6 separate regions of the Homo sapiens genome follow, and regions 2, 3, 4, 5 and 6 are each linked to region 1. The links are contacts of gene promoters, found by promoter capture Hi-C in blood cells and fetal thymus (Javierre and others, 2016). All regions are on one chromosome and are shown on one strand. Each heading gives the region's core, a stretch centred on a gene start or on the middle of the fragment in contact. The rest is flanking DNA. Distances are from core to core; before and after follow the strand shown. Region 1 holds the start of TMPRSS4 (transmembrane serine protease 4). Region 2 overlaps FXYD6-FXYD2 (FXYD6-FXYD2 readthrough). Region 3 has its middle 22 kb from the start of FXYD6-FXYD2. Region 4 has its middle 12 kb from the start of TMPRSS13. Region 5 overlaps TMPRSS13 (transmembrane serine protease 13). Region 6 holds the start of FXYD6 (FXYD domain containing ion transport regulator 6).

Region 1 (2,700 bases), core at 121-2,620:
AGAGTGTCGTGGGAAGTGCTCAGGTTGGGAATAGGAGACAATCACTCGAGGGGCCCCTGCAGGTCACACCCTTCCCCCTTGGACAGTGGCTTCTCCTTTCCTCTCTTCCCTTCCCTTTCACTTTGGTGGCTGGGCAATTGCTGCCTCTTGGCCAAGGACTGGAGAAGGAAGACCCCTGGGTTCCTCCTCAGACCCAGTTATTATCTCTTCCCCTCCCTGGCCCTCAGCTGTCCTCCTTGAAAGATAGGGTTGATTCTCTTTGCCCCAAGACAGCGAAGACGCTCCAGGTATTCAGAGGAGGAGGAGAGAGGGTGAGGGCATGAAAAGAGACCAAGTAAAAGATGACCACAAACACCCTAGATTGTTTGGAGGCATCTCTGCACTGTTTTCTTTTCCTTCTTTCTTTTTTTTTTTTTTTTTTTTTTTTTTTTTTTGAGACGGAGTTTCACTCTTGTTGCCCAGGTTGGAGTGCAATGGCACAATCTTGGCTCACCACAACCTCCGCCTCCCAAGTTCAAGCGATTCTCCTGCCTCAGCCTCCCAAGTAGCTGGGATTACAGGCACCTGCCACCACGCCTGGCTAATTTTTTGTATTTTTAGTACGGATGGGGTTTCACCATACTGGCCAGGCTGGTCTCAAACTCCTGACCTCGAGAGATCTGTCTGCCTCAGCCTCGCAAAGTGCTGGGACTACAGGCGTGAGCCACTGCACCCAGTCTACACTTTTCTTTAAAAAGAAAAGGAATCAGTTTCCCCAGGGAGTGGCAGAGGGCAACCGTGGCATCAGAACAGCCCCCTGCCTTGGAAAAATAGTGCCAACCTCTAACCAACAGACCTGGAGACATTGGGCAAAAGAACATGCAGGATTCAGGAAAGAATAGTCGGGAAGGACAGCCCTGGCTCTGTGCTCAGCTTCTTAGGTGAGCTGGTCCAAGGACCATGGCAATGGAGGAAGAGAGGAAGGCAGGTGGGTATGAGACGTGTACCGGGCTGGGGTGTGAGGGGATTTGGGTGTGGCCTCTTTTTTTAACCTAGAAGGTGTCACAGAATTCTCAGCTGATGGATGCTCAGGCTGCTTGAAGGGCCTTACATGGGGAGACCCACCCTTCCTGTGTCTTGGGAGCAGAGGGCCCCACACTCACCATGCTGGCTCTGTGATCCTCCCGGTCTCCCTGTAGCCTGGAGCTGAGATTGTCACCCCAAGGCAGCAGGAGGGCCTCCCCACACAGGTCCTGGCTGGCCAGCAGGTCAGAAGTCCCTGGTCAGCACTGGCTGGAGGAGGCCCGAGTGCAGGGCAGGCCTTGGTCCCTCACGCCCAGCATCCTTGTCCGCTGAGCAAGCTGCTGCCTCTCTCTGTGTATTCCAGGAGTGATTGGGGGACTTTGGGCAGCTTGATTAAAACAGCCCTACAAGTGAAGTTGCCAAACTGGAATGATTATGTGTCTTGTAACCTGACACCTATCTTAGGGGCTGGAACAACACCTGAAGTCATTCATGGGACCTTCGGCCTCAGAACAGGTGACACACCTAAGGCGTAACAAAAGCCTTCCCGCCTGAATGACTTCCACCCAACTGGGTGTTGGCTGAGGGTGATGCCAGAAGTTTCCGCCCCCCCTCCCCCTACCTTCTAGGTGCATGACTTCTCACTGTGTGGGTGCTTTGGTTTGGGGTTGTGGGAAGTTGGAGTGGTCTGGGGGTTGGGCGACAGGGTTTGCAGCTCAGTACAAAGAGATCATTGCCAGGTGTGGAGCAATAGGATTGGAAAGTCCACAGAGAAGGAGGGAGTTTCTTCTCTTAGGGAGGTAAGATGTACCCCCTTTCCCTGGATCCCAGAAGTGAAGCTGTCCTGCACAGAGCCAATGTACTAGTGCTTCCTGCCCCTGCCTCAGCAGCCGTTCAATATTCTGAAAATCACTATTGGTGCTCTGGCTAGAGCCCACGTCTCCTCGTCCACGGAGTCATTTCCTTCTTTCTTTCTTTCTTTTTTTCTTTTCTTTTTTTAAGACAGGGTCTCTCTCTGTCCCCCAGGCTGGAGTGCAGGGGCGCAATCTCAGCTCACTGCAACCTCCGCCTCCTAGGTTCAAGCAATTCTCGTGCTCCAGCCTCTCGAGTAGCTGGGACTACAGCCACCTGCCACCACACCCAGCTAAGTTTTGTGTTTTTGTATTTTATTTTATTTTGAGACAGAGTCTCTGTTGCCCAGGCTGGAGTGCAGTGGCGCGATCTTGGCTCACTGCAACCTCCACCTCCCAGGTTCAAGTGATTCTCCTGCCTCAGCCTCCCAAGTAGCTGCTGGGATTACAGGTGTTGTGCGCCACCATGCCTGGCTAATTTGTATTTTTAGTAGAGATGGGGTTTTGCCATGTTGGCCAGGCTGGTCTCAAACACCTGGCTTCAACTGATCCACCTGCCTCAGCCTCCCAAAGTGCTGTGATTATGGCGTGAGCCACCGCACCCAGCCCCACAGGATCATTTCTGATTCACGTTCTGCCACATCCTGATAGCTGGAGCTGCCCCCTGGCCAGGGGATGTGCAAGGTGAAACCTTACAGCCACAGATATTTTGCTGGGAGAGACTTGGATAATTGTCCACATTGTTCCCCCATTCTGTGGGCGACAAAACTAAATTCCAGAGAGGCAAAGTCAATGACCCAAAGTCACATAATGAATTAGTGTCTGGTTCCATATGAATCCAGATCTC
Region 2 (2,700 bases), core at 55-2,554, 230 kb after region 1:
AGTTCTATGTTGTGTTTCAGACTTGTGATGAAACCCACAACAGCAAACACAAAAAGAAGAAAATAAAAGGAGGCAGAGAAGAAAGATAGGACATCTATAAAGGAATGATGATATAAGCAGCAGACTTCTCAACAGCAATCATGGAAGCCAGATAGCAGTGGAATAACATCTTAAAAGTGCAGAGCAAAAATAATTATCAGCCTAGAATTGTGTACATAGCCAAACTACCTTTCAAGGTTAGGATTGTATTAGTTTTCTATTGCTGCATAACAAACGATCACAGACCCAGCAGCTTAAAGCAACACATGTTTATTATGTAATGGTTTCTTTAGGTCAGAGGTCTGGCACAGCTTAGCTGAATTTTCTGCTTCAGCATCATACCGAACTACAGTCTAGGTGCTGGCTAAGGTTGTGGTCTGATAAGAGAATTGACTGGGGAAAGATCTGCCTCCAGACTCCCTCAGGTTGCTGGCAGTATTCATCTCCTTGTGGTAGAAGAACTGAGGTTCCCATCTTCTTGCTGGCTTCTGGCCAGGGGCAGCTGTCAGCTGCTAGAGGCTTCCCACAATTCCTTATCCTGTGCTTCTCTCCGTAGCCTGTCTCATGACATAGCAGCTTGCTTTTTCAAGCCAGCAAGGGAGAAAATTCTCGAGCTCCAGCCTGCAAGATTGAGTCTTATATGATATAACACCATCATCTGAGAGCTGTCCTTTTGCCACTTTTGCCACATTCTGTTGGTTAAAAGTGTGTTGCAGCTCCTGCCAGTATTCAAAGGAAAGAGATTACTCAAAGCATTGAACACTAGAAGGCTGGAATGACTGGGGATCGCCGTAGGGTCTCTTGCCATAAAGGTGAAATGAAAACATTTCCAAATAAACAGAAACAGAGTTTCTAACGAACAGATCTTCATTAAAGAAAATTTTGAAAGATGTTCTTTAGGAATAAAGAAAATGGCATGAAGGATGACTAACGTTCAAAAACAATGGTGAACAAATCAGTACATATGTTGTAAATTCATTATCTATTGCTGCATAGCAAATTACTTCCAAACTCAGCAGCCTAAAACAGCAAACGTTTGATATTTCACACAGTTTCTGAGGGTATGGAATCAGGGAGAATCTTCAGTGGGTGGTTCTGGCTCAAGGTCTTTCATGAAGCCGGAAGATCTGTTTCCAAGCTCACTTATGTGGTTCATGGCAGGCTGTATTTCTTAGCAGGCTTTTGGAGTGAGGCCACCACATGGGCCTCTCCACAGGGGTGCCTGAATATCCTTAAGACATGGCAGCTAGCTTGACTCAGAACAAGCAATCCGAGAGGGAGGGAGAGAGAGAGAGAGCACACAAGAGGCTGTGTTGCTTTTTATAACCTCATATCGAAAGTGACATACCATTACTTCTGCCATATTTTCCTGGTCATACAGACCAACCCTGGTGCAGTGTGGGAGGGGACTGTACAAGGATCTGAATACTAGGAGATACTGGGAGCTGTCTTGCAGGCTGGCTACTACACACATGGGTGAATCCAAACAAACATAGTTTTCATGAAGTACGAATATTAGTATCTATTTTATAGAATTTTAAAAAGAACTGAAATATTCTCCAATAATAGCATATGTATCAGGAAGGGGATGATTTGTATTTTTGTATTTTCAAGGAGGGTATTCTGCCTAATAACTATTATAAGTATTAACTCTGAATTTTTTTGGTCTTTTTTACATTGAATACACATGGAAAAATTACAAAGATGACCACTAAAAGATTAAAATAGTTTCTATAATTTCTAAACCAGTAGAGGGAGAAAAGGAATAAGAAAAAAAAAAATCACTAAGCTAGGGGCAGTGGCTCATGCCTATAATCCCAGCACTTTGGGAGGCCAAGGCAGGCAGATCACCTGAGCCCAGGAGTTCGAGACCAGCCTACGTAACATAGTGAGACCGCCCCCCAAAAAAATAAAAATAAAAATAACTAATCCAGAAAAAAGAAAGGGCAAGGAAAGAAAAAGAAACAAGCACATTCCCATAGGGAAAAAACAGATGGCAGAAAGCAGACCAACTACATCAATAGTCACAATAAGTAAATTAAATGGGGTAAATTTGACAATTAATACAGAAAGCCTGACAATACAGAATTTTTCAAAAATCCATCTCTTTGCTGTTTATAAGATGCACACACAACACATAAGGACACAGAAAGGTAGAGAGTAACATAGAATTTAAGACAGGGAGGATCACTACATAATTCTAAAAGACCCAACTCAGAGGACAGTAACAGTTTTAAACTATCTGTTAGAATATTCTAAGAGACATGTTATCGGCCAGCTTCAGGTCTGTTCTGCCCACACTCAGTAAATCTCAGTAAATCAATCACTGTGACACAGATTTTGCAAAAGAGAAAAGATTTATTCAGAAGACCACCAAGCAAGGAGGCCGGAGAACGGCTCTCAAATCCGCCTCCCCAAAGATAAGGCTTAGGGATATTTACTGTTAAGGGAAGTGGGGTGGTCTGAGGCATAGGGAAAGGTGATTGGCAGTGGGGAGAAATGAAATGGCAGATTCATTCTGAGCAAGCGTAGTCAGGGTTTGTGGCATTCCACAGGACATATGTACAGGAAATGGTGGCATTAGTGTGACCTGAGGGTGGAGTTTTTAGCCCTCTGATGTCAAAGGCTACCCTTCGGAGCACTTGCACATGCCCAGTTGAA
Region 3 (2,700 bases), core at 41-2,540, 180 kb after region 1:
AAGAAGGTACAGGGGAGGTGGCAGGTGCCACGCTTACTATATTCCTAGGAGGGGTGACACTGACTGTAATAGATCCTACAGTTTCTGACAATTTCAATGGTTTAACCTAATTGAAGTTTATTTTGCATCCATGCAACAATCCTGTAAGGGTGTTCTGATCAGAGGGAGACTTTCTTCCACAAGCTTTTTCCATCTTGGGAGTTTGTCATCCACATTGTTGTCTACTTCTAGCCAGAAAGAAAATATAAAAAAGACTCATTCACTCCTTAAGTGCTCTAGCCCGGAAGTCATTTCCACTGACATTTTATGGGTACAGACATGTCATATGTGACATGTGGCACCACCTAGACAAAATTGGGCTGGGAAAGGCAGTCCTTGGCAGATCCCCCTGCAGGAGCCAGCACTCATTTCAGAGGACAACCAGCCATCTCCACTCACCATAGGAAGGTGGCTGCATCCTCAGAAGCCCAGCCTGGGCAGAAACTTAGAGCTTAGGCCATTTCTGTTTCTTTCCCCTTAGAAAGCAGACACTTTCCTTTCTCTCTCAGGGCATTCCTAGGACATAAATTGACTGGCAGGGATGTAAGGGTATGGGAGGGGGGCAGGGAAATAAGTTAGAGAAAAAGCAGGATCTGGATGGGAAAAGAAAAATACATTCCTTTGGCCCAGGATATCTATAGAGGCTACCAAAATTAGGGATGGCGGGGGGTGATAGGGCATTCTAAACTGGCGCAGAATCTCCAGGGAACTGTGTGTGTGTTTTGGGCAGGGAGGTGGTTGCAGTGACATTGTCCTATGTCCCTGGAGCCTAGGCTCCTCCAAGTACCAGCCAAGCCTTCTGGCTTTGTCAACTCTATTGACTGCTGAATTTCCATAGAATTTATCTGGGAAAGGAGTGCCAAGTGAGTGTGCTGGGCAGGAGAAGGGGGAGGCTATTGCAGGGAGAGATGATGGCTCTTTACAGAAGGAGCCACTTACAGCCTAGCAGGTGCTCCAGCTGCCTCTGGGCTTTGGTTAGATTCCCAGGGATCATTGTTCCCCATAATCACTTAGCTGTGGTCCTGATGCAATTGGGTGGACATGGGGACACACATGTGAAGTCCCCGTGATGGCCATGATGAGGATAATGATAATAATAGCCAGCATTTGCTAAACGTTTGCTATGTGCCACATGCTGTGCTGGACACCTGATGTATATTATCTCCTGTGAGCACAAGAATCCCGTGAAGTGGACATTGTCTTCATTCCTAATTTACAGATGAGGAAACAAAGGCCAAGCAAAGTGAAATAAGCCTCCCAAACTACATGACTGCTGCATGGCAGAGGTGGATTTGAATCCAGGCTCTGACATGCAGCTGCTTTTTTACACTCTGCATTCAGCTGCTCTTTTACACTCTGCACCAGAGTCAGGTGGAATCCTCCCAAGTGGGACCTCATAGGCTCTGCTCTCTGGCTCTGCGTATCTTTCCAAGAGTGTCAGGGTGAGACAACTCCCCAGAGAAGGCTAGGCGCACCCATCAGAGTGTCACATGACCAGAGGCTTAGACCATGTGGTTTCTGGTAACTTGGACAAGTACATCATGAGTGGGAGGAGGCCCTCCTCCACCCCGGTCCCAAGTGGATGGTTTCTGGGATGCCCTGTCAAGTCACAACAAGCTGTCACCCAGGACACCTCCAAGTCTCCTTGATGTAGGTGGATGGCTCTGAAAGGAACATGCCATTCATTCCCCGTCTCCTGTGCACTGGCCCAGGCTTCCTGTCCCTAGGAAGGCTGCCACCCAGTCCAGTAAGTAAGCGTGCTGTACCGATCTTACAATGGGTCCTCCCAGAGAACAGGGAGGACTGTGCTCAGGAGATAAACAGCCCTGGACCTTCTGGGACAGGAGGTCTTGAGACCTCTGAGAAAGGTGAGGGCATAGCCTGGTCTATGGTCCTCCACGGCTCACTCCTGCCAATGGGACATGGGAGGTGGACATAATAGGAGGCCTTCTCTGTCCAAGCCCTGAGTCCCAGAAAAGGTTGTCTACTTTTCATAGAAGGAAGGAGCTGGGAATCTGCTTTGAATAATTCCTTCTAATTACGCTGTGTTGTAGCAGAGAGAGCTCTGGAGTTGGAATCAAAGTACCTGGAGGTACAAATTCCAACTCTACTACTTACTCAGCTATGTGGTCTTAGACAAACCATCCTCTCTGTTTCTTCATATGTAAAATGGGTGTATCTGGCCTACATTCGTTGTGAGATTAAATGGTACGATCCATATAAACATGCAGGGCAAAGTGATTAGCATATCATGACCTCTCTGCATATGTTGAATTCGCAGCGAAAGGGTCAGATCCTTCACCCTCAGGCGCTTCATCAAACACATGACATAGGAGAGAGAATTTTGGATAAAGCTTCGAGTCCTAGGAAATTTGCCATGTCTCTCCATAAACTTTGTTCCTAGGCTTTTAGCAATGACCTGATCCTCCATGGAGGTGATGCTACCACCTAGGCCAGGTGGATATTCCCAGCTGGTGGTCCCTCTAAGTCGTGGAGCTCCATGACTTAGAGGAGCTCACCCCGCTCTCTCTTATCACTGACAGGGCCAGGAAAGCTGCCTGTCCCTGGAAGAATTCTCCTCTGGGAGATGTTAATGTCCTGCCCTGGCAGACTCTGACTGCTCAGCCAATGGAGTTGGCCAACTCAGGTCTGTGAGGGGCA
Region 4 (2,700 bases), core at 143-2,642, 140 kb after region 1:
CACTCCTATGGATATCCCCAAAAGAACTGAAAATATAAGCTCATGCAAAAACTTGCACATCAGTTGATAGCACCATTATTCATGATAGCCCAAAAGGGGAAACAATTCAAACGGCTATCACCTGATGAATAGATAAATAAAATGTGGCATATCCACACAATGGAGTGTTATCCACAGTTATTCACAATACAAAGAAATGAAGTACTGATACAAGCGTCAAGTCCAAGGGAAAAATTCTGCTTCACCCTCTGAAGTTTTGTTGAAAATCACTCACATAAGGCAGATTAATAGGAGAAAAGGTACATAAATTTATTTGACCATAGTTTTAGGTGACACAGGAGCTTTCAGAATGAAGACCCAAAGATACAGGGGAAGTTGTCCATTTTTATGCTTAGGTTCAACAAAGTATAGACAGCTGTGTGGAGAAATACGATTGGACAAAAAGGGTCTGATCTAATGCTAACAGAGTGAGTATGGAAATCCAGCAAGGCTGTCCATCTAGATTTTTGTTGACCCCTTTGAGCATGTGTTCCTTCCTTCTGGGTATGAGGGTCTAATGAACTACAGTCAGGTAAGGTAGGTCACATCATGTTTTATGGCCAGTTTTTACACTGGCGGTGTGGAGTTGGGGAGAGAGATTGATACTTTTAGGTTTTATGGCTGGCTTTGGAGAAAAGGAGTTTGGGTTTCTATGACCCACCTTGGAAAAGAGGGATTCCAGTCTCAACGGCTGGCCTCGGGGGAGAATGGGACTGAGAAACAGGAGGGCAGGAGCAGGTCAGAGAAAAACTTTTGTTTCTGAGGTCTTCATTTTGAGGTGTTGTTTTCTGAGTCCCAACATAAGCCACAGCGCAGATGGACCTTGAAAATATGATGATGAATGAAAGGAGCCAGCCACAGAAGACCACACACTGCATGAGTCCACTTACAGGAAATGACCAGAATAGACACATCTACAGGCACAGAAAGTAGATTCGTGGTTGCCTTAGGGCTTGGGGGAGGGAAGCTGGGGAAGTAAGTGCTAAAGAGTAGGGTATTTCTTTTGGGAATGATGAAAATGTTCTAACGTTTATTGTGATGGTCAATCTTACACAACCCTGAATATACCAAAAACCATCTAATTGTATACTTTAAATGGGTGAACAGTATGGTATGTAAATTCTATCTCAATACAGCTGTTAAAATTTTATGGTGAAATGAATGAATGGATCTGCCCCTTCCGATAGCCTCCTGGCTCTAGAGGAGACACAGCAGGTGGCCCTTGTCCCATGAGCTGGTCTCTGGACCTAGAAATGCACAATTGACAGGTGGCAACTCATACTATTTGTGAACATGCACCCTCCCCGTCTAGGACCTCAGCTCCCTGGCCTTTGGAAGTGCTGGGAGATGGTGGGAAGGGGTCTTGGAGGGCCAGACAAGGTCCAGGCTCAGGAAGCACTTCTGGCAATGTTCTCCCAGCTCTCTGCATCTAGAACAAAGCATTCTTAGTCAGCTGGGCTCACCCCACCCGGAGTAATTACCCTCGTTAGCCCCTCTGTGTGTGTCATCTGCACACATAGGTAATTAAACTGAACGAGGGGCCGTGACTCAGCTGCTCTGCCTCACACCAGCCCTGGCCCAGTGCAGACTGGGAGAACTGGCTCTGCCAGGCACTGGGGGTGAGTGGACAGCCAGGGCACCTGGTGCTGAGCAGAGGATCAGGTGGTGGCACAGGAGGACTCTCTGGTCTTCCTTACTCCTCATCCCAAAACTGGAACCTAGAGCAAGTGGGCCCCAGGTGGGTCCAGGCAGGGCTGAAGATGGTTGGCTGGTTAAACTTGGGGTTAGCCTTGAGGCTCTGAACTCACTCCTATGCCACAGCCTGTGGTTCAGTGTTGAACCAAAGGAGCCTGGGGCAGCCTCAGACTCTGAGGCATGGGCTGAGGCCTAGGAGGACAGACCAAGCACAGGAAGTGGGTCTTTAGAATCCTGGCCTCTCAAATACCCTGCCGCAAGATGTCAGAGGGCTGCTCTGGAATCAGAAGTTTAAGGGAACAACTGCTCAGAAGAGAGGATCTCTGAAATTCCTTCCAGTTCCCATGTTCTGCGCGTCCGATTGTTAATATCCGCTGCACACTTACTCTGTGTGACGGCTCTACCCACACGATCTCATTTCATACCCACATCCCTATACGGCAGATCCTGTTCTCCTGCCTGGATTACAGAGGAGGACATGGAGGATTGAGAAGTCAATTATTTGCTCCAAGTCACAGGCCTTCCATGTAGTGGAGCCTGTATTCAAATCCAGGTCTGCCTGACTCAGAGACCAAGGTCTCAACCATCCATTGCCCATACTCCTTAAATCTATAATTCTAGAAATCCAGGCTCTCCTTCTAGTTAACTTTGAAGAATGTATGTGTGATGTAAGAACCATCTCATGAGAGTAGAGCTGTGATTAATTCAATTAGGGTTATTTTATAGGACACAGTAATTTTTCTTTGTGATGAGAAGACCACAAGAAGCAATTAAGTTATTAAGCAACTATTGTTTGGTACATAGTAGAGATTCAATAAAGGCTTATTTATTGAATAACTGATTGCCTAGATTTGTGCTAGATCTTCTGAGGGGATGCAAAAGAATTCTATCAATCAATTAGTAAGTATTTATTGAGTGCATGGTATAGGCAAAGTACTGGTCAATGTTAGCAGGCAGACCAGACTT
Region 5 (2,700 bases), core at 69-2,568, 150 kb after region 1:
CTCGTCCTCCAAGGACCCTGGCACCTGCCCTATGCCCCTGCAGGTGTGCAGCCTTCACCTCGTCCTCCAAGGACCCTGGTACCTGCCCTGTGCCCCTGCAGGTGTGCAGCCCTCACCTTGTCCTCTGTTTCATGTTGTCATTGGTGAGGAGCAGACTTCCTTTGGCACAGCCACCTCGATTTCCCCTGCATTGTCCCCTGAGACTTGGCAGATGTGAGCGTAAGCGTGCGGGAGTGTGTGTATTGGGCCCTGGGCTGGGGAGCTGGGTGGGAAGGACAACTGATGTAACAATGGCCACTTAGCTTAAGTGTCTTGTTTTGGCAGAACAGATTCCTCTTGGTATAGCAACAACAAGGGTGGATGTGCCTGGCCAAGTGGGCAGGGCACTGGTGGTGCAGGCATGAGGGAAGCCACCACAGGGAACCCTGGCTTTAGCCGTCAAGTGGAGGCCTTGACAGCACCAGATGGGGGTTGGTTTCCCTAGGAGGGAAGCAATACCCAAAACTTTAGAGGGGCCCCCATTATGTACCAGCCCTGAGTGTGTCACTACCCTAGGACTGGCAGCAAGAGAAGGCACAGACACAGGGAAACATTGAGGCAGCAAGTTCCTGGGCAATCAAACATTATTTGCTGGGCAATAGTGGGCACTCCATGTTCTTTACAGCATTTGATAAATGAATGAATGAATGAGTGAATGAACGAATGAATGAACAAGGAGGCGTCTTGATTCTGGTCTAACAGGGATTCCTTGAGCTTTTTCATGTGCACAGGAGGCATCGGAAACTAGAAGGGACTTCAGCACTTACTCTGGCCAGTCCCTTTCAAGTTCGTTGTAGCAGCTGCCTCTTTTGTTCAAATGAATGTTATGTTGACTCCGCTGTATGAAACTGAAAGGTCGGTCTTCTCTGTTGAGGTGGGGTAAGGGCTCAGAGCCCACCACAGTCCCCACCAGCTGGTCTGCAAGGCACCTCCACGGAAACTGAAATGCTCTGTGGAACCCTGTTTGAAAACTGCTGATTGTCCAACACCCTTAATTTATTGAAGAGGGAGCTGAGGCCCAGAGAAGGATGTGACTGTCCCCAAGGTCACACGGCGGCCTAGGAGCAGAAGCGAGGCTCCCCGTGCCCCCCACCCCCAGGGCGAGGCAGACCCTGCAGCTCTGGCCCCTTCCAGAGTTCAGTCTGCCTCAAGGGCTGACCCAAGTCCCTGAGCTGTATACTGCGTGTGTGCTGGAGATGCTGGTGCTGGGTGAGGAGGTGGTGGGGAAGATGCCTGTGTGCTGAGGAGAGCCTGTATTTGTGGGGTTTCTCTGGGTTCGGGGAGGGGGAGAGTAGGAAAGGGCCTTGGGAACCTGGAGGTACAGTGAAGCCTGGGTCTAGCCGTGAGAAAGGGAAAAAAGTCACCCAGTCCAGCCGGGCCCTCGCTGGGAAGGGTTCAGGCCTCCCCTGCCACAACCCCAGGGCTCCCCAGGTTCCCAACAGGCAAGGAGGGTTTTTAGGCTCTGTCAAAGGGAGATCCTGATCTTTCTCAGTGCCGCCAGTGCTTCCAGAAGGGTTTAGTGAGGGGTTTTTCTTCCTGCCTAGCCCAGAGTGCTGGGTTGTTGGCCCATGGTCTGCCCGTGCCCACCCTATGGGCGCCCTTGATGCCCAGGGTCACTGGAAAAGGGACGCTGCCACGGGGGCCTCTGTCTGGGAAGGGTCCTTTCTCATGGAGGCTGGTAAGGGACAGAGAGGGGAAGAGCAGAGTGTTGTGTAACAGCCCAAGGATGGGGGCCAGAAGATCATGGTTCTAGAATTGGCACCGTCCCCACCTGGCTGTGTGTCCGTGAGCAAGTCACACAGCCTTTCTGGGCCTTCATCGCCTCAACAATAGTATAAAGGGCTTGGGTAGGTTTTCTTTTCTTTTCTTTTCTTTTCTTTGAGATGGGGTCTTGCTATGTTGCCTAGGTTGGTCTTCAGCTTCTGGCCTCAAGCCATTTTCCCACCTCAGCCTCCCAAGTAGCTGGGACTACAGGCCGGCGCCACCACGCCCAGCTTAGAGGGTTTTCAGAATCTTTGCAACTCTGACAGCCTGTGATATGCCCAACCCTGGGTGGTAGCTTTACGAAGGGATGGCCCAGGGCTGAGGAGGGAGGCCCAATTGGCTTAAACTGGACTGAAACGGGCCCTGATGCACCCGCCCTCAGGCCATGAAGCAGCTACTGCTCCCTGCTGGACATTCTTCAGGACTAGAAGGAGAGCTTTTTTTTTTTTTTTTTTAATTATTATACTTTAAGTTCTAGGGTACATGTGCACAACGTGCAGGTTTGTTACATATGTATACATGTGCCGTGTTGGTGTGCTGCACCCATTAACTCGTCCTTTACATTAGGTATTTCTCCTAATGCTATCCCTCCCCCGTCTCCCCACTCCCCGACAGGCCCTGGTGTGTGATGTTCCCCATCCTGTGTCCAAGTGTTCTCATTGTTCAATTGCGGGAGAGCTTTTTATAGGGTGGTTCACACTGCAAGCCCAGGCTCTGGGGGACCTGAAGTGCATATTTCCCAAGTTCAGGCTGCTGCTTATGGCTGAAGAACTCTCATTATGCAGAGCCTGGGGCTCGATCCACAGCAGCAGCTCCATAACCACTGAGATGAAGCAACCATGAGCCCACATCACTCAGGCCCCCTCTCTCACTGGCTGGGCCCCCAGAAGGTCCAGG
Region 6 (2,700 bases), core at 54-2,553, 200 kb after region 1:
ACCTGACCTTTTATTAAAATAATTAGATCATCTAGGGCAGAGCTGGAAGAGACCTCAGGATCATCTAGTCCATCTCCCTATTTTCCCAAATGAGAAAACAGGCCCAGAACTGAGGGCAGCAGAGGCAGGGCTAGGTTTCTTCCTAGCAGTACCCATCATCCCCGGCTTGGGGTTTGTAAGGAACTCTCCGTGGCCCTACCTAGGCTTGGACAATCACAGCCTTTCTCAGTAGCTCCTCCCTCCACCCGGCTCGGCCATACACACACCTTGACTGAGGCTGGACAGCCTCCATCTCAGCATGGCTCCTGGCTACTGACACTTGTGCCTGGCCTCTGCCCCTTCCTACAAGCTCTGCCCCTAATAGTAAGAGCCAATTTCTTGAGCACTCACTATGAGCTAAGCCTCCCATGGGGTCAGTCTCTAATCACCATTTTCCCACGTGAGGAAATAGACTCAGGAGCTGAGTGCAGAGATATGCTCCAAGTCGCGTCACAGGCAGGGTTGCCGAGCCAGGATTTATTTACATCTTCACATTCAAAGTTCGTCATCATGAATTTTGACTCTTGGGGACTGGGCTGAGGACGGGGTGGTACTGCTCCTGGCAGGGCCAGAGGTGGATGGGGCTTGAAAAGGGGGTTCAAGGCAGCAGATCTATGGTTCAGGTAAGGACCATCCCCCCAGCTCCCCACCTGGCTCTAGCTGAAAATGACAACTACAACTGGAGCTGGCTCCTGCGCCCACGACACAGCCATTCATGCTTTTGGTGCACATTCCCCTTAATTACCAAGGCTCCCAATTAACGTGGGCTGCTGTGTCTGGTGCTGGGTTATTTTCTCCTATTTTTCCGTTCCTCGGGGTTTACTATTGCAGAGAGACACCAGGTCTGTCATTGTGCCTGTCTTGCTCCCTTCCCACCCTAACCAGAGGGAAACCGAAAAGCAACAGCTGATGGCAAATCCGCTCCGGCGCTTGCACGCCTCCTCGGCGGCAGTCTCCTGTTGCTTCTCGGAGCTTGACTGCCCTTTGGAAAAATCTCTCCGCCCCTCGAGAGGAGAGAGGAGCAGAGGACGCGCGCGAGCACAGAGCGGGAGGACGGACAGGGAGAGGAGGAGAGGGGGTCTGCGCGCGGCCGCTACCCAGAAGCCAGCGGACGGCAGCACGGAGTGGGCTGTCCCCGAGCCCAGCCCCGAGCGAGCCCCCCCCCCGCCCCCGCAGGACGCGCCTCCCAGCCAGCCCGACTCCTAGGAGGAGGGGAGGCGGGAAAGCAGCTCAAGCCTCACCCACCGCCCTGCCCCCAGCCCCGCCACTCCCAGGCTCCTCGGGACTCGGCGGGTCCTCCTGGGAGTCTCGGAGGGGACCGGCTGTGCAGGTAGGCGGCTGGGGAGGTGGGCAAAGTTGGCTCCTTTTTCCGAGGAGGGGCGAGGCTCGGTGGGGACCGATCTCTGGAGCGCCGGGAGCGCCGGGTTTTGTGTGTTCAGTGGGTGTGTGCGGTCCTCCGCGGTCAGCTGCGCCGCGGTCCCCGCCTGGGCAGCGGGAAACCGGGCTGGGGATGTAAACAAGGAGATCGGCGTCGGAAGAGAGAGGAGCCTCTAGGGGAGGCAGGCTGTGGCGCTGGGGGTGACGCTGGTGGCTGGGAATTGCTCTCGGTGCTGCCTTGAGCTTGGGGTCAGGGTTTTCAGGAGAAGGGGAAAGGGCTGCGCCCACCCTTTATCCATGAGGAGTTTTCCCTTTGTTACTTGGAAGCTGTGGACACTTGGTGGAGCGTGGGGAATTACGGACGAGGGCGTGTGGCTGGGTGTGAGTGTGGACTTATGAGCGACACAAAATGGAACTTGCTGGTTTGGTGCTTGGGGAAGGTGGGGCTGGGCAGTGGGCACAGGATGGGGGCGCAGGGAAAGAAGGATTCTAGCGCTCGGGGATTCATGAGAGTGCATCATTTTTTCCCTCCTTCTTGTCTTATCCATCCAATCCTGTTTCCTTTCCGGGGGGCCCTGGGGTCCGCCATTGCCCCCTTTCCCCAGCAGGGCTGGCCCTGGCAGAGCCTCCCCTATTGTGTCTCCCGGGCTTCCGTGGAGAGTTGGGTGTGCAGCCTGGAGCTCCCAGCGCTGGCTTCTGGCTCTTACAAGTGGTGGCTGGTAGAGGAGGCACCCGAGGGTGGGAGCTGGGAGCAGCCTCGCTGGAAACATGGGTCTGCCGCGTCACCTGCTGCAAGCCTGCACGCTCGCGGGACCGTGGCTACTGGAGGCTTCTCCCCACCAGTGTGCTCTCTGCCACTACTTCCTTTGTCTCTGTGGCTTCGTGCTGTCTGGCTGGGCTAAGATTTCCAGCTTTGAAGATGGATCAGTGGGCATCTCAGGCCCTCTCTGAAAGGAGCCCCCTTTGGGGATCCAGCCACCCTCATATTATGGATGTGTATGTCTACGTCCGCAACTTAGCCTTTTGCACGTGACTTGCCTGGTCGTTGCCATGGAAACTCCTCCATTTCTCAGCCTCCCTCTTTCTCCTGCCCATTCCTCACCTCCATATCTCCTCCCCTCCCCCCAGTATGGTTGCCTAGATACTGGTTATCCCTGGCTAGGAGACCTAGATATCTGGCTCCTACACCCAATTGCAGTGGCCCCTTACTCACACCACCCACTTCACACACACTGCACATCACCAACACCACAAACACATACAGACATATACCACACTACGCAA

What was found. Contacts are between HindIII fragments. The CHiCAGO score rates a contact against its expected background, and 5 or more counts as called.
Region 2: a contact is called between a fragment that was not itself captured here and the fragment with the promoter of TMPRSS4 in region 1, in 11 of 17 cell types (activated CD4 T cells, total CD8 T cells, non-activated CD4 T cells and 8 more). The highest score is 9.9, in activated CD4 T cells.
Region 3: a contact is called between a fragment that was not itself captured here and the fragment with the promoter of TMPRSS4 in region 1, in 1 of 17 cell types (activated CD4 T cells). The highest score is 5.2, in activated CD4 T cells.
Region 4: a contact is called between a fragment that was not itself captured here and the fragment with the promoter of TMPRSS4 in region 1, in 6 of 17 cell types (total CD8 T cells, activated CD4 T cells, naive B cells and 3 more). The highest score is 5.8, in total CD8 T cells.
Region 5: a contact is called between a fragment that was not itself captured here and the fragment with the promoter of TMPRSS4 in region 1, in 2 of 17 cell types (activated CD4 T cells and naive CD4 T cells). The highest score is 5.4, in activated CD4 T cells.
Region 6: the fragment with the promoter of FXYD6 here is called in contact with the fragment with the promoter of TMPRSS4 in region 1 in 4 of 17 cell types (activated CD4 T cells, naive CD4 T cells, non-activated CD4 T cells and 1 more); the score reaches 6.1 in activated CD4 T cells.

The regions. Positions count from the first base shown.
Region 1 is chr11:118,075,748-118,078,447 of GRCh38, reverse strand. It overlaps TMPRSS4 (transmembrane serine protease 4), which reads right to left and starts at 1,370. Exons shown (of 13, transcript NM_019894.4): 1 at 1,143-1,370. The coding sequence starts at 1,145. All of the region lies in intron 1 of SMIM35 (small integral membrane protein 35), which reads left to right. RefSeq lists an enhancer at 920-1,515. The HindIII fragment of the contact is 4,332 bases long and covers 1-2,700 here.
Region 2 is chr11:117,849,919-117,852,618 of GRCh38, reverse strand. All of the region lies in intron 1 of FXYD6-FXYD2 (FXYD6-FXYD2 readthrough), which reads left to right. All of the region lies in intron 1 of FXYD6 (FXYD domain containing ion transport regulator 6), which reads left to right. Among named protein-coding and RNA genes, the nearest start is that of FXYD6-AS1, 18 kb to the right of the region's middle. The HindIII fragment of the contact is 4,307 bases long and covers 1-2,700 here.
Region 3 is chr11:117,897,121-117,899,820 of GRCh38, reverse strand. No RefSeq gene overlaps it. Among named protein-coding and RNA genes, the nearest start is that of FXYD6-FXYD2, 22 kb to the right of the region's middle. The HindIII fragment of the contact is 2,210 bases long and covers 186-2,395 here.
Region 4 is chr11:117,940,412-117,943,111 of GRCh38, reverse strand. No RefSeq gene overlaps it. Among named protein-coding and RNA genes, the nearest start is that of TMPRSS13, 12 kb to the right of the region's middle. The HindIII fragment of the contact is 3,240 bases long and covers 1-2,700 here.
Region 5 is chr11:117,923,397-117,926,096 of GRCh38, reverse strand. The region is part of intron 1 of TMPRSS13 (transmembrane serine protease 13); the gene reads left to right. Among named protein-coding and RNA genes, the nearest start is that of TMPRSS13, 4.7 kb to the left of the region's middle. The HindIII fragment of the contact is 4,391 bases long and covers 1-2,700 here.
Region 6 is chr11:117,875,261-117,877,960 of GRCh38, reverse strand. FXYD6 (FXYD domain containing ion transport regulator 6) reads left to right here and starts at 1,303. Exons shown (of 8, transcript NM_022003.4): 1 at 1,303-1,369. FXYD6-FXYD2 (FXYD6-FXYD2 readthrough) reads left to right here and starts at 1,303. Exons shown (of 10, transcript NM_001243598.4): 1 at 1,303-1,369. The HindIII fragment of the contact is 14,206 bases long and covers 1-2,700 here.